3 separate regions of the Homo sapiens genome follow, and regions 1 and 3 are each linked to region 2. Evidence: promoter capture Hi-C in 16 types of primary human blood cells and fetal thymus (Javierre and others, 2016). All regions are on one chromosome and are shown on one strand. The core of a region is centred on a gene start or on the middle of the fragment in contact, and the rest is flanking DNA. Distances in the headings are between cores, read along the strand shown.

What was found. The method cuts DNA at HindIII sites, captures the fragments that hold promoters and counts their contacts. A CHiCAGO score of 5 or more calls a contact.
Region 1: a contact is called between a fragment that was not itself captured here and the fragment with the promoter of CCDC141 in region 2, in 3 of 17 cell types (naive CD4 T cells, total CD4 T cells and total B cells). The highest score is 5.5, in naive CD4 T cells.
Region 3: a fragment that was not itself captured here is called in contact with the fragment with the promoter of CCDC141 in region 2 in 3 of 17 cell types (naive CD8 T cells, non-activated CD4 T cells and naive B cells); the score reaches 5.5 in naive CD8 T cells.

Annotation. Positions count from the first base shown.
Region 1 is chr2:178,893,076-178,896,619 of GRCh38, reverse strand. All of the region lies in intron 8 of CCDC141 (coiled-coil domain containing 141), which reads left to right. The region is part of intron 1 of LOC105373766 (a long non-coding RNA gene); the gene reads right to left. Among named protein-coding and RNA genes, the nearest start is that of TTN, 87 kb to the right of the region's middle. The HindIII fragment of the contact is 4,463 bases long and covers 1-3,497 here.
Region 2 is chr2:179,048,075-179,051,640 of GRCh38, reverse strand. CCDC141 (coiled-coil domain containing 141) reads left to right here and starts at 1,504. Exons shown (of 24, transcript NM_173648.4): 1 at 1,504-1,801. The coding sequence starts at 1,700. RefSeq lists enhancers at 1,428-1,507, 1,518-1,767, 1,958-2,007. The HindIII fragment of the contact is 6,980 bases long and covers 1-2,391 here.
Region 3 is chr2:178,909,320-178,912,822 of GRCh38, reverse strand. The region is part of intron 7 of CCDC141 (coiled-coil domain containing 141); the gene reads left to right. All of the region lies in intron 2 of LOC105373766 (a long non-coding RNA gene), which reads right to left. Among named protein-coding and RNA genes, the nearest start is that of TTN, 100 kb to the right of the region's middle. The HindIII fragment of the contact is 1,075 bases long and covers 905-1,979 here.

The sequences.
Region 1 (3,544 bases), core at 17-2,516, 150 kb after region 2:
AAATGAACATAGATCCTTTTTTAAAAATATATATTTTAGTGCACTTAAAATTTACTCTAGCTTCTAGCTTCAGCTCAAGTCCCAACTTCTCTGCAAAGTTTTTCTTTCTTTCAGTTCATTTAGGAAGTTATCAAATGTACATATGAGCATCTTATATGGCATACCAGCACCAGGCCTCAGGGACAATCAAAGCCATATAAAACTGACCCCAAATCCCCAGAACCTGTCCCGCGTCCAGTCAGGGAGCTGCACATCAAGGAAGTGTGCTCCAGGCACGAGGGGCCCATGAGTACAGTGGATGTTGCGGTCACTTCTTCAGAGAAGGGAGACACAATCCGAAAGTCTGAGATCAAGACAGGCCAAATGAAAGGGTGAAATCTGAGAGGGCTATGAACAGTTGCTGTATTTGGTAGGCTGAGATGGGTGAAGGGTCTACATCTTCGAGCCAAGATGAACTGAATCAATACCTGCCACATAATAGTTTCTTGAATTCCTTTTTGTTTGTCACGTCTATCTCATGGCTCCACTTTTCATTCTGGGCTGGGCTGAATCATTCTTTAGTTATTTCATTTGTGACAGTATCATGTCCTCATTCAGACCATGATATCAACTCAGGGCTGAAACCACCCAAGAAACCTCTTTTTTACCTTATGTTAAGGGGCTGGCATGACATTGAAGGAAAGCCCTTAACACAGTGAAAATATTTACAAAGATCTTAACAAACAAAAACAATCTCCATTCTCCAACAAGACAAACACATTTCCTTTGCCTAGTAGATTTGTCTATGCCTGCATTTTATATGAACTGTACTAAGCATTTAAGAACTTAAAAATAACTGCTTTTAAAAGACTTTGATGATGCATTTAGATGGTAAATGTCAGATAGTGAAATTTAGGAAATTACAAAGTTGAGTTCTTATGACAGTCAACCCAGCCACTTTCCAAATATTTTCATGTCTATATTAAGCTGTTCTTTTTAGAGGCTGGGTAAATGTCATAACTGCAATCCTGGCTTGTTAACACCGTTAAGGATTTTATCATTCTAAAACTCTTAGTGTGGAAAGTACCAAAAGCTCACACTTCCCATTAAATCCAGGATTAACTACACTAGGTTCTCATAAAGTATCTTTATCACGGCAATATGAATGTATTCATTTATAATGCTGATGATGTGAAGTAGCAAAGATCCCAGAGTAAAAAGATCTGGACCTACAGAACCTCCAGAGGAAGGCTGACTAAAGAGGCAGAAATCCCTGCCCTGGGTGATTGAGGACTCCTCTCATATTACAGGGTTTAGGGAGAAGAGGACAAAGAAAAGAGACAGGAAGAGATGTGAGGGGACATATTTATGAATAAGATGCTCATCACAGTGCTATTTATAATAGTGCAAACCCGAAAACCAGCTAAATATTTCCAGAAACTAGGGAAATGTTTGAATAGTTTAAGGGAAAGCACATAATGGAATATTCTAAGTCCATATCAAATAGTTTTTTGAAGAATATTTTAAGACAGAGTATCCTCACAATATAACGGTAAGCAGGTACAAGTGGGACCCAATTTCTCTATAAGGCATAATACTAATGTGGGGTAGAGTAGGTGAGGAGGGCCAGGGGACTACCAAAAAGAAAGTCTTTTTGGAAGGAAATACATTAAAAGATATTTTTATGTTTTCCAAATAATCTCAAATGTGTGCATTTATCTGTTTAGCTCTTGCTGTGCCCTTTTAATCTCAGTATTATGTCGCAAATTATGAGAAAATTTCAGCAAGTATCTTTTTAAATATTACTTTTCTGCTATTACCTTTTTTTTCTCTTCTATACCTTCTATTAGAAGAATGTTGGAGCCTCTTGGTCTCTTTGCAGTCTCTTACCTGTCTTTGGTATTTTTTCACTATTTTAACTCTCTGTGTTGCACTCTCCATGGGTCCTCAGGGTATTTTCTCTTTTTTCCTTTTTCCCTTTGTTTTCATTCATTGATTTCTTATTTTAGAAAATATATTGTTTTCATTTCTGTGATTTCTAATTTTTTTGTGTGTCTAATTTTGTTTTATTTCTGACTTTTTGTTTCAAAGTTTCTTGGTCTTTTATTGTGGGTGTTGGGTTTTTTTAATCTCTCTGATGATCTCAGGCATTTACTTTAAAGTCATTGTCAGATTGCTGTACTTATTTTCTTTACAGCTAGAGTACATTTATCTCTTGGTTGTTGAACATATCTTGGATTTGCTTTTCTTCATGTGTTTTGAGATTTTGGATTGCACTCTCATTTGGAGTGGGAGGGTTTTTTTCTTTGACTTTCTTTTGCTTGCTTGCTTCTCTCTTTGCTCTTTCCTCCTTAGCAGCTTTGCAGTGACCACCTGGACTCATAGGACCTTCAGTCCAGCATCAAAATGTACTTCTGTTATTTGATCAGGGTCACACAAGCGTCTGTGGAGATATTGTGGCTCTTGAAGATGCAGTCAGGAAACCAGAAGAGGGCTTGAGGTGGTTCCTGATGGCTCTGCCATGTTTAATTCCATGGCCCTCATAGCTGTTGGCTGCAGCATTTTCAGCCTCCCCTAATGAGGGCAGAGAATTTCAGCTCTGCTACTGATTTCAGGAAGAATCCTAGCAATGGTACCCTTCACATAGGACATATATGTTGGTCTCTATGGCCTCATAGAAATGGAACTTCTAGCCATCTCTACATGCATCTGAACAAGAACCCAGGTGCCCTGTAGCTTCAGCCACACTTACTGCTTTCTGTTTCTACTTTGTTATCTATACATAAAACATTGTGTGTGTGTGTGTGTGTGTGTGTGCGTGTGTGTGTGTGTGTGTGTGTGAGAGAGAGAGAAATGTTTGGTGGGAGAAATTTTCAAAGTATATAGCTTAAATAAGAATCAAATTTATTGTAGAAACATATGCATTTCACTTCTACAGTATAAATGGCACTTTTTCAAAGTAGGGATGAAAACTAGAGAGCAGCAGTTGTTTCCTCAAAAATAAAGACAACCATAAACATAAAAAGACACTCTTCGGGTTCCCATTAAAAGAAGCAGCAAGCTAAAGATAAGGAAGATTTTTTTCCATCTTTAAAGTATAATTTGTCCATAGACAAAAAGAAAAATATGGTCAGCTGATCCCTCCCAATGAGACAGAGTAAGCTGTCAAGTGCTTACCATCTGGTTCAGCTCCTAATCCAGATGGGCTGACAATAGTAATTTATGAAAGGTTTGAAAGCAACTTGCCATTCTTCAGAAATAATCATTAGAACACATTAACATTGGAATTTGCTTCCCTCCTCCAGCCCCAATTTACAACAAATGCAAAGATAGGGCAACTGCTTCCATACAGTAAATAGAGCAGTCTATTCTTGAACCAGAAGTCAATACGTCTGTGCTCTTTGAGAAAAAAAAAAAAAGCAATTATTTTTCTTCCCCCTCCACTTCCCTCTATTGGCTCAATGAATAAGGGAGAGAATGTTCTCATTTGGAGTTTCTAACAAATGCCTGAAGAAGCTTTCACAGTCTGTGATGCTTGGAAAAGTCAAAGTCAACCTCAGGAATA
Region 2 (3,566 bases), core at 255-2,754:
CTTTATTGCTCACACAAAGCCTGTTTGGTGGTCTCTTCACACAGATGCAAGTGAAAGAAGGAGCCTGCCTGCAACCTTCCAGGTCAGTTACCTCTTTGCAAGCTCTCCAGCCCTGCCATAAAATGAAACCATTTGCAATAGTTGCTACATCATAGCTTGCTCGGCATCTGCTTTCCTGAGCTCGCTCCAATTGTTCCCTTCATGGGGTCAGGTGAAGTTCGTGTTGCATAGGGACTAGGATCTAGGTATGGTTTCCATCTCACTGGGGCAGCAGGCAGATGCTGAGCGCAGAGGACATGGGTGGTGGCTACACAGCTGCAGAGCAGCCATGACATGCTCTTGGAAACAAAAATAATTGAACACTGAAGTATGTGTAAAAGTACTTTTCCCCTTTGAATCAAGAATATGATCATGAACCTTAGCAAAACAAAGCAATGGAGCTGACTCAGTCTTCTAAACATTGGCCCTGAACCTGAACCTACTATTAAATTGGGCTAAAAGGTTTACAGAGCAAGTGGATTCATTAAAACTGTTTTTTGCTATATTCTCTGTTGTGGCTTTGTCCCAGAGATTTCCAATGCTTCCAGCAGCTTTGGAGTTAGTAACTCTGATATGTTTGCATCTGACTTCTGACCTAAACTTTAGTGTTATTTTCAGCTGTTCTTTGACAGGGAATCCAACAGCTGCTGTTTAATACCACAGACAACTTGTGACACAGGCTGAGTTTCTAGCAATAGGATTAATCTACCAATGTGGGGCACTGATTTGAAGCTGGCTATAATTTTCCTGAACAGGAGGTGGGGGTAGGGAATAAAAAGCCTGAAGCACAGTACTTTCCTTTTTGTTTTTGTTTTTAATTGCAGCAAAATATATGTCTTAATAACTTTTAACCACACAGAAAACATTTTCTTGCTGCAATTAAAAGGTAACAGCAAAGTATTTTGCTTTCTCATGGTATTAATAACTGAACTTGAAAACCTTGTCCAATGGAGCAGAATAGTCACAAAGAAAATCTGAAATGATAGGCACCTATTTATAAATGCTGGTTGAAATATTTTTTAAAAATTCCTAAGAAATCTGAGGCTCTGAGAAAATGTGGCTATTCCATCTAAACTTCATTTAGCAAAGAACAGTAAGTTTTAGAAAAGCAGATTAATCTAAAAATGTGTTTTAAGCAATTTGTGACTTAACCCCAAGACAAATACCAAAACTTTTTTAAAGTACACTTTGGTAGTTCTCTTTGCATCAGAGAGATTTCAAAAATCTTGAAAAGATTGATAACCAGGTCAAAGACTTACTTGTTTCAAAGTCCATGGTTACAATGGCATAGTTTCGGTGGCAAAACTAATTTGGGTTGTCAGGATGTAATTTTTTTTTCCATTTGTTATCAAACATCAGCTGATAAGGAAAGAGCTTGAAGCTGTCCTCCACATTTAAGATAACAGCAAAAATAACAGGCACTTAGTGTCACCATACTAGGGGCGTGGCAATTCTCTCTCGTTCGCTCCTTTCTCTCTCACGATAAACTCAATGGGGTTGTCTATTTTTAACCTCCTGTTCTTTCCTTTTGGCAGAGTAATCAGTGTGAGCTGAGCTCTTTCCCTGAATGAATCCAAGTAACCCTGGCCTTCTGAAATGACCAGCAGACACACAACTGTCCAGAGGCTGCCCAAAGTATAAACTCTGGTTCTAAAGTACCATGTCCAGCCAAGGAAGTCCTAGTGTTGCGCTTTCTACGACGACAGTCAGTTCAGTTGCTGTGCAGGCTGGGGACTCCAAAATCGTTATAGCTGTCATAAAGGTAAGCTAACAACTTCCTTTTTTCTGTGCGGCTGTGGGCTTCTAGCTGTGTGTTGAAAACCCTAAAGAACATTCCATGCAATCGGCAGGACACAGCATAGAGAAGACAACGCAGCAAGCACTCTTACTGCTTTCTAAAATGGGCTACTAAGAGAAACCTCTACAAGTTTCAGCAGTTACCAGAGATTCTCTTTCCTTTCAGTCAGCCAGAAAGCATCTATAGCAGCTTGATTTAAAAAAAAAAAAAAAAAGAAAAGAAAGAAAAATAAAGAAAAGAAAACCTCTAGCATATACTGTCAATTTGGTCTTTAAAAGCAAGGCATTGGTAACTGGAAGTTCATGATTGCCTGACTAAAGAGTCCAATGGACCTGTGGAATGCTTGTGATTTTTGAGAGTGGATGTGATGGAGGTGGGAGGAGGCAGGTCCCGACAGACAGGGGGAGGGCACTGCTTTAAGCACGATGGAACTCAGAAAACACCAAGTAAAGGGCTCCGACATGTGCCCTTTGCCACACTGGTTTTGACATGGTAAAGAAACTACTAAATCCTTGTCCAGTAACGAAGACCATGCAAGGAAAGGTACAAAAGCTTTGTGTCAAATTTGCTCTTAACAGCAGGAAGTAGAAGCCACTTAGGGTTTACAATTACTGCATGTTTTATGACAACCCATTTGCCCATTTGCAAAGATGACCACACATCTTTAGGCTGAAGAAGAACTCCATGATTTTATTCTCCATGGAAATGCCCTGTAAAAAAAAGCTTTCAAGCACTAGGCTTGGGCTTTAGATGATATTCCACCTAAATAATTCAGTGTTTAATGAAGGGAAAGCTGGCAAACAAGCTGATGGTCACAAACCAGTTACTTTCAGGTCCCCACCAGGTTTAATTGAATGACTTTTCTGGCCTTTTGTTAGAGCATGGACAGCAAGCCATGTTTACTTTAACTTAATTGCTGTGAATTTTATGGTAATGTGAAAATTCATACCAGGAAAAGAGCACTTGATACTGAGCAAAACAGTTCACTATAGAAGGACAGAATGGAAAGTATTCCTGCCGAGGTGGATTTTCTGGTGTTGTGAGACTTCTCTCCCACAGGAACCAGGCCTCTGCTGACTTCCTCACCCTCCCATCTTTTCAGAGTCCCAGAGAGGAGATGAAAAGAAGCCTGATGCAGAAGTAGGGCAAACAGATCATTTGCACGGGATTAATGATACTTTGAGTTAACTGCAGATTTCAGCAATGAGGGAAAAGAGGCAAACTCACTATTTTTCAAAAAGTTAACTTTCCATTTCCTCAAATATGAACATTCTTGGAGCAGGATGAGGAATAATATTAGAGGATAAATTACAGAAGAATCAGAGGTAGATTGAACACAAAAAAATTACACTGGAAATTACACTGGAAAATTACACTGGAAACTCTTATTTTAACTGAATTGTGTTTCTAAGAATGTTCCCCCACTACCCTCTCCTCAGCCCTCTTACCTTACTGCCATCTCCATACAAAATACACCCCAAGCAATTCAGAGTATAAAGTCCACCTTAATGGAATGGAAGTGCCTGTGTGTGATTTATAGTGACTGTCCAAACTGTCTCAGGGGACTGAATATATTCTAAAATAGAAATACATTTTTCTAATTTCTCTTTAGTAATTCAGGTATCTACATGCGTATGCGTGTTAGTGGTTCATTTTGCTTAATGAGTTGTTGCTTCTTAGAAAAGCAATTCCTCAGGAAATGCAATGACAAATTATATCTTAGAGCAGT
Region 3 (3,503 bases), core at 193-2,692, 140 kb after region 2:
CCAGGAATGTAGGGTGTACACCTAAAGTGATGAGAGACAAAGGTGGTAGAAGCAGGTGGGGAGATCAGGAAGCATTTTGAATAGCATGCTAAGGAGTTTCTATTTTATGCTGAACATGTCTTTATATATGCAGAGATATTTAAGAATTGAAAAAGTCATGATGATGCAAACCTCACCACAAGAAACAGATGATGTCTTAATTTACCCTCTTCCTGTACTCCCTATGACAGAGTGATGAGTGTAGTGTTTAGAAACCTTTGATTTTAGAGCTCAGAGGTCAGGCTGTTTAAACCACAGCAAGTATTTGATAAATATGGCTACATTATTAGCATACAATTATTAAAATAGATATATCATAGAAAAATTATAGAAAAAGAAACATCTTTAACATCTTAAGTGTCTCATGAGAGCTCACAACTCAGTTCATATCTAATAGTCTGATAATCAAGACATTCAATTTTATTGTCCTCACTCATGAATACCTTTCACATTTAAGCTGTCAATGGATTTCTAACGTAAGAGTGTATTAATTGGTTTCTCTTCTATGTGCAGTATCAGATTGTTGCATCTCTCTGTTGGCAGTAAGCACATTCTGCTTAGTATTATAGATATTTATTTCTGGGTAGATTTCTTTTGCTAAATTAAAATTTCTTGAGGGTAAGAAACATGTCCTTTTCACTTTGTGTTCACCAGAACACCTAGAACAGTGACTTCTAGTTAGTGGGTGTTCAATAATTATTTGAATGACTAAGAGCAGTGAAATATTATAAACTGTAGAGTTTCAAGGCCAACTACATGAAATTGTTCATAGGAGATTATATTGATCCAAGGTACTTGGGACTTGACCATTTTGAAAGAAGATAATTTAATTACTTTAATATACAAGGAACACAAATTTTAAGCTTCATCTCTGCATCATATCTGAGAAGGCAGGTCTTGCTGTGTAAAGGGCTTGTCATCTACACATAGTGCCTCCTCTGAGACATCTCCAGGCAGCACTAATTGCTTGTTTTGTATCATTTCCATAATATTTCTCTGTATGCCTTAGAGAGAGATTGTGTCCTAATCTTCTTTGTGTGTCACATAGGTTCAAAAAACTTTTGTCGGATGAATGAATAAATGACTGGCCATGTGACAAATCAATTTACATTTTGAGCTTGAGTTTTCTCTTTTATAAAATCAGTCTAATATTCCTCATCTACTTCAGAGAGTCTCATTCAATAATAAAAGTTCTTATAGTTGGTGATAAATTGTACACACTCTTTTTGGGATACAGTTGGAGTGTAAAATAAATGGAATTGTAGGGTATTAAGTGAAAATTAGAAATGTTTGCTAGCATTACACTTTGCCAAAATAACAGTAGATTTTGGAGCCAGAATGCCTGAGTATGAATCTGATCTTGGACATTTATTAGCTCTATGACCTTGGGCAGTCACTTAACTTCCCTGTGCATTGGCTTTTTTAACCTGTAAAATAGAAGTACTATTGGTACCTTACAAGGACATTGTGCTGTCTAAGTAAGTTAATACGTGGCTACAGCACAGAACTGCTAAGCACTCACTAATTGCTAGGCAGTATTTTGTCTTTATATCTCTAATGTGATGTAATGCTTTTGTTCATTTTCACATTCCCAGCACGTAGCTGAGTACATAGTCCATAAATTTCAATGTTTTTTGAATAAGTGTAAAAATAAGTGCTTTACACATTATAAATGGACATTTTCTACATTAATATTCCCAAGATCATCTTAAAGTCATTTAGGTCAACTTAGAGAAAAGAAAACAGAAATTATAAATAGTGACTAGCTGCCTAAAGTGCTATTGAATGGGTCTAGTTGTATTCCTCAGAACAAGAGATGGTCAATGCATAAACTTCCTCCATTCCTTGTTGATAAAATGCTTCAGATACATACCACTTTCAATCCCAAACCTCTTTTATTCCAGTGTTTTCTCAGCTTTCCAGATTATGAGACAAAAGCTTCCATAGGTGCTAATGGCATTTAATACCTCTCATTAATACCATGAATTCACCCTGGAACAAGGAGGGAGCTCTGAGGTCCAGCAGCAACTGCCTTTGACAGGCAAGGAATAAGCTGGAGCTGCAGCAGAGGACAGCAAATATTGGGAGCTTAAAAATCACATCACCCCTATATTCTGGCCTTCAGGGCATTTGAAAGCTTGGGCAGATGTGGGGAGGACCTGAATTAGGAATCAGTTCCCCAGAGTGGGAACCACCAGAAGTTCTCTCAGGTGATGTGTAGGAAAGGAAACTGAAGCTTTTGGTCTTTGTAACAGAACCTAAGGGAAATCTGAATCTCTACAGGTAATGGAATCTGGTGCTCTAATTAGAAGCACTAATTAGACTCAACTCAGCACTTAGCTGAGTTTTGTGTTTTTGATAGTTATAAGCATTCCAACAAAACTCTCTCCAGCCACTAGACTCGTGGAAGGAAATTTTCTAGGTTCTGCTGTTTTCTTTCTGTTGTTGTTCGTGTTTAATGTTGACTCTCTTCAAGTTGATTAGTCAAGAAGCAAACAACATTACTTATTAAACACCTTTGTGAAACAGCATGATAGAATTCTGCTAGATGACTCACGGCTCTTGTTTGAATTCGTCTTGCAGATATTTTTAAAAGAATGAAATGTGCCATGTCCTGATACTATCTCTATTTGATTTGGTGCAGGCTGCCTTGGGTCCTGTACTAAACAAGTGAAAAAGGAAAGGTCTTTATTGGTTTTGTAAAGAACAAACACCAAGCAACTCCTTAGTCTTTACCAAAACAAGACCGAAAAGAGCTGATTCATCTTCTTATCTGCCTAAAAACTGAATAGTACATATAAAATGTTCAAGAAGAGCTAGGAACCAGAGGGATAAAATATTATCCTTGTCCTATATCCTTTTTTCCCAATCCAGTCATAGTAGCTTTATTTGACTTGCACGTATAAGGTTTGAAGAGAGATATATGAAGGAAAAAAGACCAAAGGGAAAACACTGCTTCCAAAGGAGTTTACATGGGGGTCACAGTGTTCTTATTGCCAGAAATAATATGTTCTGTACTGTGTGTGCAACAAAGGGAGTCTTTCCAGGCTGGGTCCGATATATCAGGTTCTTTATGGGTATGGTAAATAGAAAAGCACTCAGTTCTATTTTGAGGGTAGATTAAGTGAGAGCAATGATACTTAGATCATTTCTGGAACTGGCACATGGAACTGGCAAATTCTGCATGGGAATAAGAGAGATGAGCTTTGTGTATAATTCAGACAATCACAGACAGTACAGTCTTCTTGAAAGTAGCTTCCTGTTAAAGTCCAGAAATTTAACTCTTATTTCTATGTCTGCAGATTATTCCTATTACGGGTTGGTTAGGATTGAGGTCAGTATCCAGCCCATCGTACCAATAGGTATTCTACAAATGTATTTGTTGAGCTAATGAAGGAGTAAAATCACTTACCTCCTTTCTACTGCTGTAGTTCTATTAAGTGTGATACACAGAACAATTTATA